Regions from separate parts of the Homo sapiens genome. Here region 1 is linked to region 2. The links are contacts of gene promoters, found by promoter capture Hi-C in blood cells and fetal thymus (Javierre and others, 2016). All regions are on one chromosome and are shown on one strand. Each heading gives the region's core, a stretch centred on a gene start or on the middle of the fragment in contact. The rest is flanking DNA. Distances are from core to core; before and after follow the strand shown.

What was found. The method cuts DNA at HindIII sites, captures the fragments that hold promoters and counts their contacts. A CHiCAGO score of 5 or more calls a contact.
Region 1: a contact is called between a fragment that was not itself captured here and the fragment with the promoter of NAA15 in region 2, in 1 of 17 cell types (naive CD4 T cells). The highest score is 6.5, in naive CD4 T cells.

What each region holds. Positions count from the first base shown.
Region 1 is chr4:143,508,439-143,513,867 of GRCh38, forward strand. It overlaps SMARCA5 (SNF2 related chromatin remodeling ATPase 5), which reads left to right and starts at 5,264. Exons shown (of 24, transcript NM_003601.4): 1 at 5,264-5,429. SMARCA5-AS1 (SMARCA5 antisense RNA 1) reads right to left here. Exons shown (of 2, transcript NR_104027.1): 2 at 5,034-5,429. RefSeq lists enhancers at 4,695-4,744, 4,765-4,854, 4,885-4,954, 4,985-5,354. The HindIII fragment of the contact is 1,370 bases long and covers 1,299-2,668 here.
Region 2 is chr4:139,298,421-139,303,680 of GRCh38, forward strand. It overlaps NAA15 (N-alpha-acetyltransferase 15, NatA auxiliary subunit), which reads left to right and starts at 3,085. Exons shown (of 20, transcript NM_057175.5): 1 at 3,085-3,411. The coding sequence starts at 3,358. It overlaps NDUFC1 (NADH:ubiquinone oxidoreductase subunit C1), which reads right to left and starts at 4,057. Exons shown (of 6, transcript NM_001184989.2): 1 at 3,996-4,057. RefSeq lists enhancers at 2,476-2,595, 3,076-3,135. The HindIII fragment of the contact is 1,328 bases long and covers 2,650-3,977 here.

The sequences.
Region 1 (5,429 bases), core at 734-3,233, 4.2 Mb after region 2:
TGAGACTATTCTCTTTTCTGAATGTAAGCATTTAGTGTATAATTTCCCTCTAAGCACTGTTTTAGCTGTGTTCCACAAATTTTAATATATTGTATTTTTATTCTGTTCAATGTACTTTTTGATTTCTCTTGAGACCTCTCTTTGACCCATGGATTATTTAGAAGCACGTCATTTAGTTTGAATATATCCCTGGTAACATTTTGTTACTGATTTCTGGTTTGACTCCATTGTGGTTAAAAAACATACTCTGTATGATTTCACATCTTTTAAATTTGTTAAGGTTTATGGTCTATCTTGCTATATTTTCTGTGGGTTCTTGAAAAGAATGTGTATAGTCCTACTTTTGTAGAAGAAAAAAATATGTGCAGTGTTGTATAAATGTCAATTAGATCCTATTGGCTGTTGTTAAGTTCTTCTATACCCTTGCTGGTTTTCTGCCTAGTTGTAGTATCAGTTGTTGAGAGATGCTGTAGTCTCCACATATAATTGTGGATTTGTTATTTCTAATTTCAGTTCTGTCACCTTTTGCTTCACATATTTTGCAGCTCTGTTGTTTGGTACATATACATTTAAAATTGCTATGTCTTCTGGGTTGACACTTTCATCATTATATAATGTCCCTCTTTGTCTCATAATTTTCTTTGCTCTGAAGTCTACTTTATCTGATAATGATATAGCCACTCCTGTTTTCTTTTTGCTATTGTTTTAATGATATATATTTTCCATCTTTTTACTTTCAATATTTTGAGCAAAAGACTGCCTAATTTCCTTTGTCTGAAGTTCCTTTTAATAAATGAGATAAAAACTAAATAAAAAAACTCTAATTTCTTAATTGAAGCTTTGTAGTTTATTATTTCAAAAATGTTTCAAAGATGGTGGTTAAAATTTAACTTTGGATCATAATATTTGAGTTCCTAGAAATACTTTACCTAGAACCAGCCCAACAAAAAAGAAATTATTTTTTCATGAGCAGGAAGAAATGCAGAGAAAACCTGAAAAACTTTGACTACATAAACATATGCATATATACCGAGCAGACACAAAGTCTCCCACTATTTAGTTGGTGACTAAATATGAGGGGAATGAAGGGAATATATCCTTACCTGTTTATTAACAGTACAGTTAATGTTTCTCTTTAACTGAAATCTCTGTACATTGACAAATGACCTATGTGGGAGAACTCTAAAAAAGATACATACAACATGTAATCATTGGTATCTGGTGTTGGAAATACCCATTCTTAGATACAAACTCAATACAGTTTTATTGTCTTGCAGTAATCAGACTTTATTTTCTTAAGCTTTGACAAAATGAGTTGCAATGAAGAGAGGTGTTGCATTTCTTCTTTGTCCTTGAGAAAACTTTAACTCCTTTCTGTTACCATTCAAGGACACAATGCTGAGAGAGCCCTGGCTCTTCGGCACATTTTTGTCCTCTGGCAACATCTCTTTGTTCCATTGTATTTCTGTACTGTACTTGCTGTTCTAGCACATTAAATCTAACAGAGGAAATTTTAGGTGTAAACTATGTATATACATATTGGAGATAGAACACTAACATTATTTTACACTGTAGCATTCTGTTGCTGGGAATACGACTAAAGCTCTAATCCTTTCTGGTGTTTTCTTGCTACCAAACCCCTTACCCTCCTCCTTCTTTGGTTCCTCTTCTTTCAACTAGACTCTAAACCTTAGGCTTATGATTCTCAAGGATAAGACTAACACTTGAACCCAGAACTCACTATATGTCAGGCACTGTATCATGTACCTTATACTGTCTCATTTAATTTTTATGACATCATAATATTATCTCAAAATAAAGCTAGGAAAATATAATAATAAAAAGATGAGAAAATTGATTTCAAAGAGGTTAGATAACTTGTCTGCATTCACACAGCTACTAAGTTCCAGAGCCTGCACTGGAATCTAGGCTTGCCTGCTCCCCAACCCACTCTTTTACCAACACATGAATTCTGTATTATGTGATCAATTCAACAACTAGCTGCTAGTTTTAGCCTTTTAGCAGGATTTTGTGATTTGGCCACCATATTAGTATTGCTATCTGCCTGAGGAACACAGCTAATGTCCCTGTAGCTGTTTCTAGGCTTCATGTCTTTTCTGTAGCTCTTCTCTGCTTTTCCTTTCTGGTTCTAAACTCTGCCAAAAATCTTTTTCTCTGTCACTTATGCTAGATAACTGAGTTCGAGCATTCTGTGTCCTCTTGCTAGTTTCCATCTTTTCTCTATAATTTTCCCCCGAATGATTCTAATACAGCTTTCATATGATCATATGAGAAACTCACATGTAAATGCACATGTTAAAAGACAATCGCCATTTTGGAGGCAATTTTTATTTATTTATGTGCATTGTTTTCCTTGCTATTTATTGCTTTCCTTAAATAGTTATCAGACTTAAGATCCTTTCATTTATATACCTACATATAACTTTAGGGTTTCCAGACCAAGACCCAAGATTTCTACCTAAGACTATAAAAAGTGAAGAAACATTTCGAATGCTAAATTAATGTTTTAGTCTATTTAATGTAAATATAAAAATATTATTCATCAAGTATTTATTAAGTATGTGTCAGGTTCCACCCTAGACACCACTTTCTTACCCTTCCACATAATTTTTTTTCGGTGAAAGAACATTTTTTAAAATTAAAAATAAGCTTTCTAAAAATGGGGAGATGTTGGTCAAAGGATACAAAGTTTTGGTTATACAAGATGAATAATTTCTGGAGATGTAATGCACAGCATGGTAACTATTGTTAATAATACTGTTTGCATAGTTGAAATTTGTTGAGAGTAAATCTTAAATGTTCTCACCATGCTGGCAGGCAGTAAATATAAGAGGTGATGTATATGCTTATTAGCTTGATTGCGGTAATCATTTCACAACGTGTTTATATATCAAAACATCACATTGTATGCCTTAAATATATACAATTTTGTGAATTATACCTCAGTAAAGCTGAAATTTTTTTAAAAAAAGTTTTCTTAATACAATAATAGGCAAATTCGGCAGCCTGGCACAGTGGCTGTCACCTGTAATCCCATCACTTTAAGAGACTGAGGCAGGTAGATGGCTTGAGCCCTAATTGTTGTTCAGGACCAGTATGGGCAACATGGCGATCCCTGTCTACACCCAAAAAATACAAAAATTAGCTGGGCTTGGTGGCATGCACCTGTAGTCCCAGCTACTTGGGAGGCTGAGGTGGGAGAATTGCTGGACCCCAGGAGGCTGAGGCTGCAGTGAGTCACGACTGTGACACTGCACTGCAGCCTAGGAGACAGGGCAAGCCACTGTCAAAAAACAAACAAACAAACAAACAAAAACAAAAAACCAGCAACGATCAGTTTCAATACTTTTGTAAATATGCTTCCAACTTTTATCTACATTTTTGAACTGTTAAACCAAATTTTTCAGTTAACACTTTATAAATTAACATTCTTTGGCTAGGTGCGGTGGCTCACGCCTGTAACCCCAGCACTTTAGGAGGCCTAGGCGAGCAGATCACTTGAGACCAGGAGTTTGAGACTAGCCTGGCCAAAACAGCAAAACCCTGTCTCTACTGAAAATACAAAAATTAGCCAGGCGTGGTGGTGCACGCCTGTAATTCCAGCTACTCCGGAGGCTAAGTCATGAGAATCCTTTGAACCTGGGAGTTGGAGATTGCAGTGAGCTGAGATCATGCCACCGCACTGCAGCCTGGGCGACAGAAACTGTCTGAAAACAAAACAACACAAAACAACCATTATTCTACATTAATGGTTGTTAAAGGTTAATAGTTCATTTTCTGGGTGTATGACAGTTTTAAACACCTAACTTTTAATACTGGATTCAGCCTACTGTTGTTAGCTTTTTGCAGTCATATATGAAGACTATGATGAACATCATTGTAGGTATTCATCTTTGCATATATCCTTAGACATTTCCTTATAGTCTAAGAACTAGCATTTCTAGTGGAGTGGGGACATTTTTCCAGATGTCCATTTAAGAATTATCATTCCATTAGTTAAAAAATTTGCAGGCTATATATTCAAAGGGGATCCCTTCTGTTTGGAATTCAACATAACCAGTTAGCTCAAACCTCAACTCTCGAAAAATGTGTCTCCTTTACTCAACAAACATTTAGAGAATACTGAATATGAGGAATAAAAAAAGATAAAAAAGACCCTGTACTGGGCAGGTAATCTACTGTAGTATGCAGATTCGTTATCAAACAGACTACAATGTATTTAAATTTTGTAGGCGATGAATGCACAAGGCCCTTAAGCTGCATTGAAGGCTGCCTAAGGCAGTATACAAAATCAGTGCTGAATATTTGTTAACACTTAAGGAGAATGTACGTTTTAATTTTCATGTTTGATGCTTGGGGAAAAGATTACATCGCACCACCTATCTTCCCCATATATTGATTATTCGTGTTTCTCACTTCCATGGTAGTGTGCACGTTATTTGCTTAACTTTGGCATATAAATTCAGAAGAAATATCATTTAACTCTGTGCCTAAGGAGGGTATTTAGAAATAACCGACGCAGCTAACATGAGAAGGCAAAAAAAAAAAAAAAGAAAAAAGAAAAAAATCACACTAACGGACTTTTTTTTTTTTTCTAACAACAAAAAACCGTGAGACTTCACTTGGGGTAACCATAACGTCGTCAAGGCTGTGGCGTCACGCCTCTAAGCGGATACGGCAGAAGTTTTGGGGCCAGACACAAGACTTCCAAGTTTGAATGGGCAGCGCAAAACCCAGACAAGTTTTCCGGTAGTGCCGCCAACCCCTGTCAGGCACAGAAGACACAGCGAGAACCGTGAGCCGTTACGAAAGCCTAAAACACTGAGCTCGCGTCCTGCCAAGCAGCAGGCGCACAAACCTACACCTCCGAGCGCTCCCTGGAGGTCCCGCCCACTCTTCTCTCCCGAGCCGGCTAGAGATCTGGAAGAGGGCGGGCCAAGGGTGAGGAGGGCAGTATGCGCATGCGCGCTCAGGACCCAGTCAGTGAGCCAATAAGGAATCTCGCGAGTGTTGAAAGTCGGTGGCGTAGGTCGTCGTCCTGGATGCTGGCGAGATAGATGTTATCTTCCAGAGGAAGAGGAGGAGGCGGCGAAGCGTTTTCCCAGCCTCAGTCTCTCTTTCGTTTTCCTTTTCCCTTCCCCCAACCCTCCGCCCTTCTCTAAATCAGCCGGCCTTCCTTGACCTCAGTGACCCGTCTGGCCCCGCCCACCCTCGTCGACGTGATTCCCGCCGTGAGGTAAGCGCCGGTGGAACCTAGAGCCCCGCGGAAGAGCAGAACGTTTGGGAGTGTGCAGCTCCTGGGCCCGGCTCAGGCCCGTCGCGGAGGCGCGGCGCAGGGGAGCGCTCGGGTGGGAGTCTCGCTCCTCCACCAGTTTATTGCGACGTAGCATCCAGGCCTAGGCCTCCCC
Region 2 (5,260 bases), core at 1,835-4,334:
AGAGCGAAACTCTGTCTCAAAAAAAAAAAAAAAAAAAAAGATTCAGCAGCAGGCCGGGCGTTGGGGCTCACATCTATAATCCCAGCACTTTGGGAGGCTGCGGTGGGTGGATTGCTTAAGCCCAGGAGTTCAAGAGTAGCCTGGGCAACATTGAGAAATCCTGTCTATACACACACACAAAAAAAACCCAGAAGCAATAGCAAATTGTTAACATTTGTTAAATCTAGGTGACAAATACATGAATTTCTTTTATATTCTTTTTTTTTTTTTGGAACAAGGTCTCAGCTCTGTTGCCCAGGCCGGAGAGCAGAGGTGTCATCACAGCTCACTGCAGTCTCGACCTCTGGGGCCGAAGGAATCTTCCCACCCAAGCCCACAAAGTAGCTGGGACTACAGGCTCACAGCACCACACCTGGCAAATTTTAAAATTTTTTTGTAGAGACAGGGTCTCACTATGTTGCCCAGGTTGGTCTCAAACTTCTGGGCTCAAGCGATCTTCCTGCCTCAGCCTCCCAGTGTCGGGATTATAGGTATGAGGCATTATGCCTGGCCTATGTTTTTTTTTTTGAGATGTAGTCTCACTCTGTTGTCCAGGCTGGAGTGCAGTGGTGCGATCTTGGCTCACTGCAACCTCCACCTCCCAGGTTCAAGCGATTGTCTTGCCTCAGCCTCCTGGATAGCTGGGGTTACAGGCACGCACCACCACACCCGGCTAATTTTTGTATTTTTAGTAGAGACGGGGTTTCACCATGTTGGTCAGGCTGGTCTTGAACTCCTGACCTTGTGATCCGCCCGCCTCAGCCTCCCAAAGTGCTGGGATTACAGGTGTGAGCCACCAAGCCCAGCCTTTTTTTTTTTTTTAAATAAGATCCAAGTACTTAATAAGATGTAACAGTCTCAATAGAGAACATCTTACATATATGGAGAAATTTCACTCAACATATCCCTTTTGTAGAATTAAAGTTTGCAAGGTAAATGATTTTATTTCTTTCTTTTTGGTTAATATTTTTTAGAGTTAGCATTTGGAACATAGTGACATGCAAGCACATGGGGTAAGATGAATTAACTATCATCAGCAGCAGCAGCGGCAGCATATAGCCTTGGATATGTTAACTTTCTGAAAGCATGGCTGTTACTTACAGTATAACTCAAATGGGATCTCTATTTGTGAAATTGTGGTGATCAGAGTAAATATATATTTTTTTATTCAATTCAGGCTACTGTGTGGTCAGACTGTTATCTGTAGGTGCATTTTAACTAGCAAATGAATCAGTTAAATGTTGAATCAGACTAGTATTTGCCGAGCCTTTAAAATTGCCATTTCTTTGTCATCACCCAAAAAGAATGTAACATTTGCCAAACTCTATTTCTGGCTCATCTAATCAGGTACTCAGGTTCTGGTGGAAGCTACTGATTGTTTCAAAGACCAGAAATTTTCTTCCTCTGAAGGAAAATAGAATATTCTTTACAGGAGAAATTTAGAGAACTATAGCAAATAGTATTGCTGTAGGGATTTTTGGATATGAAGCCAGAAATTTGGATATGAAGCCAGAGATTTGGAAATCCAAGCTAAAACTATCAACTGCATTTAGACTATTTTTTCTGTCTTTCAATAGTTCAGACAGTTGAAAGATCTCTTGGGGCAGTGAATTTTGCAGGTTATTACTAAGTAACAGCTTAAAAATGAATTATAAGCTTGTTCTTAGTTTTATAAAGTTAAGGTTAAAATACTGGCCATATTTCAAACTGAAACATAGTTTCCTGTATATATGATTTTTCTCAAACTTTTGAAGAGAGATCACAGAATTTAAGGAAACTCCAGGATTTGACTGTTAAAAACCTTATTTATGACCCCGGTGAAGGGCGAGGACAATCAATATAGCAGCTACAAAACCCAAGTTTATATTGGGAAACATGTATCTCAACTCACACCTTTCAGGGACAGTTAAGAGAAGTTTGAAAATTAAAATATCTTTGCAAATAAATTTAAAACAGTAAAAAACACGCACATATTGTTTAATAATTCATGATGCAAAGAATGCTACAGAGTGAAATCAGGATTTGGAAAGAGGTAATCAAAAACCAAAGGTTAAAAGTGGCTCATATAACTTGAAAATTTTTAGATCAATGGAATGCCACTTTGAAAAAGTTTTACGGTCAGCTGTTAATGAAATGACTTACATTTTTGGAAGGACTCCTATTCGGTATGTAGTCTGACCTCGCCTACTCGAGTAGTTCCCTCTAGTATCCTTGCCAGTCTTTGGCTTCTAAGATCTGAGAATTTCTGGGGATGGGGAGTTCGAGTCACAATATTAAGAACTAGTTTGAAGCCAGCTCCAGGGTAGTCTGTCTTTAAGTCTCCACTACTCCGCTCCAAGGTGACTCATAAGGTCGGTCCGTCAACTCTGCATTATATGGCCTCAACAACGAAATTAAAACACATACTTTAACCTCCAGAGCCTCCTTTGGCAGTGCAAATATGTCACTTCGGATCTGACTAACTACCTTTCCAGGCTGATCTTAAGCAACATTCACCAAATTACCGATACGACAGCCAGGCCCATTTCATCGGTCAAGCTCTTTCACGATTTCCAGACTCTGTTAAGCCCCTTTCTCCCCAGGGCTGTTAACAAGTCTCCACTGCGGTGAAGCTTTTTTCATTTTCCACTCCGCCTCTGCTCCTTAAATTAGGCATTTCGTCCATAATCAACTACAGCGCTTCTCAAACACCTACACCTGTATTTTAGCACTTTGGGCTCAAACGATGATCACACAGTGTGCGAGACTCTTTCCAAGGAATGAAAGGTCGATCTAGCAGGAAGGCGCCAGAGAGGCTGTTTTTGATGAGGAGGCGGTCTGAACCGTACTTGCCTAGCCTCCCGTAGCTCCGCGGGCGCTTCGAGGGTACCACGCACTGAAATGATGGGCGGGGCCTGCCCCGACCCTCCCGGCCTCCACAGGCAGGCCAGCCTCCAGGTTTCCCGGCAAGCTCCGAAACCCAGAGGAGGTGGGGAAAGGAGGTCACCGCGCCTGCGTGTTAGGAAGCGTGACCCGGGTGGGAAAACCCTCCGCGTCCGCCATTTTGGCTGCCTCTGTCGGTCTGTTCAGTTACCACGTGAACCGCCGACGGAGACCCGTAGTGGGGGAGGCGGCGGCAGCGTTAAGTGAGAAAGGAAAAAAGACAACGAGGAAAAAGGAGGTGTCCGGGTAGGGCAACGCGGCGACACCCGAGGCCTGGTGGTGGCGGCGGATCGAGATATTCAAGGCTGAAGCAGCTACGGAACGGCAGCGGCGGCGGTCGGACAAACTGACTGACCGAGCCGGGTGGTGGCGGGAGCAGCGGGAGCAGCCGGAACGATGCCGGCCGTGAGCCTCCCGCCCAAGGAGAATGCGCTCTTCAAGCGGATCTTGGTAAGTGTGAGGCTCCGGGCAAGCGGTGGGGAGGATTTAGCCGGTAACCGGGCCTGTCACCCCTAACCTCGGCCCGGCGGGCACTGAGCCACTCCCGCCCGGGACCCCGCCTTCATAGCTCTCGTCAGGCCGAATGCATTGCTTTGCTCCCTCTCTGTGGTTCCTACTATGGCCCGCGCGCCAGGGACCACAGGCTTCTTCATTCCATCCCCACGCTTGAGGCCCTGGTTCCGGACTAGGCCCCGACCTCCCGGCTTCTAGACTGCCGGTTCTCATTCTCCCCGATCTGGGGGAGAAGAGGCCCGGCCTTTGGCGGGCAAGTGGGCGACACCGGCAGGAGTCGCGGCCCGGTTGGTGTGGGAACCCTGCTGGCAGGTCGGGGTGGCACCCTTGGAAGGAACAGGTGGTGCGGATGCAGCAGGCTCATTCATTGCCTAAACGCGGTTCTCCCTCCATCATCTGTCCCTCCCTCTTCCTCCTCTCTTGGGATTCACCTGTCTCCGCCCGGCCCGGGGTCACCCAATGACCTGAGAGGAGGGAAAGAAGGAGTTCAGAGAAGGAAAGAAAGCTTTTCAAACGACTACCTCCTTGTAGTCAGTTGCATACTGGAGTCTTCAGCTCCTCTGCCTCCGTTGTTCTCGTTTCTGGAGTAGGGATGAGGCATTTATTTCTTAGTTTCCGAGCGGGAAACAGCCCCACCCCGTCACTCTTCTCGGGAGGTGGGGCCCATTGCGAGGGGGCGGTTCGGTAGGAAGTAAAAAGTTGAGTCTTTAGTTGAAACGTTGCAGACCTAGACTTTTCTTATACACTGAAGTATATTAACACATGCAAAAACTTACCAGAGAAATGAGAATATAAGAACTTTTGAGATGGATTTTGTTGACGCTAGCTCAGACTTATTCCCTACGGTTCAAATGTGTGCAGTTTGTATTTTTTTAAACCATAAATGCATTGATGTTTGCAGGGACTGTTTACATTGTAAAATATGTCCTGTAGCCTTGGAGCTATAATTAACACATTGTAGCACATTTTTTGTTTGGCATTTAGTATGTGGGTTCCCCCTTTCACGCAAACGTTTCCTTATGATAGAATTAACTGTATTTGCCAAATTTAAGACTTTTAAAATTTGGGATGTGTGTGTGAAAGTGTTAGCCTTTTCCCCCGCAGTTATAATTTATTTCACCTGTTTGAAAAGTAGAACAACTCTGGGGATTCAGTTTTTCTAGAAATGAATAATCATCCATTTGAACTAACTTTGATTTTACAAAAGTGTCCATATGCCCTACAGATTTAGTGAATTCATTTTGAAAAACATTAGAAAGTCACATGCAGTGTCGCAAAACTGTTACCTTGAAATTCTTACTGGAATTTTGTTTTGTTTTAAGACTAAGAGTGTAGGTGGAGCTGTAAAATAGTTTTAGGAAAAAAGTTACTTTTAAACCCTTAAAAAGACTAATTGGTGTGCAGGTAGAACTGTAACATAAGTTTAGAATAGCAATTTATCTTTAATCTCTTTTTCACAATTCTTTATTTTGAAAAAAATGAAACTGAAAAGTTGAGAGAACAAGGAACACTCATAAACCTTTACTTATATTTATTTGCCATATATGCTTTCTCTCTCCCTATGTATATGTATATATACATTTGTATAAAAGTAAGTTGTAGATGTAAAATTTATCTCTAGGCTGGGCACGGTGTCTCATGCCTGTAATCCCAGCACTTTGGGAGGCTGAGGCAGATGGATCACTTGAGGTCAGGAGTTCGAGACCAGGCTGGCCAACGTAGTGAAATCCTGTCTCTACTGAAAATACAAAAATTAGTCAGGCATGGTGGTGTTCGCCTGTAGTCC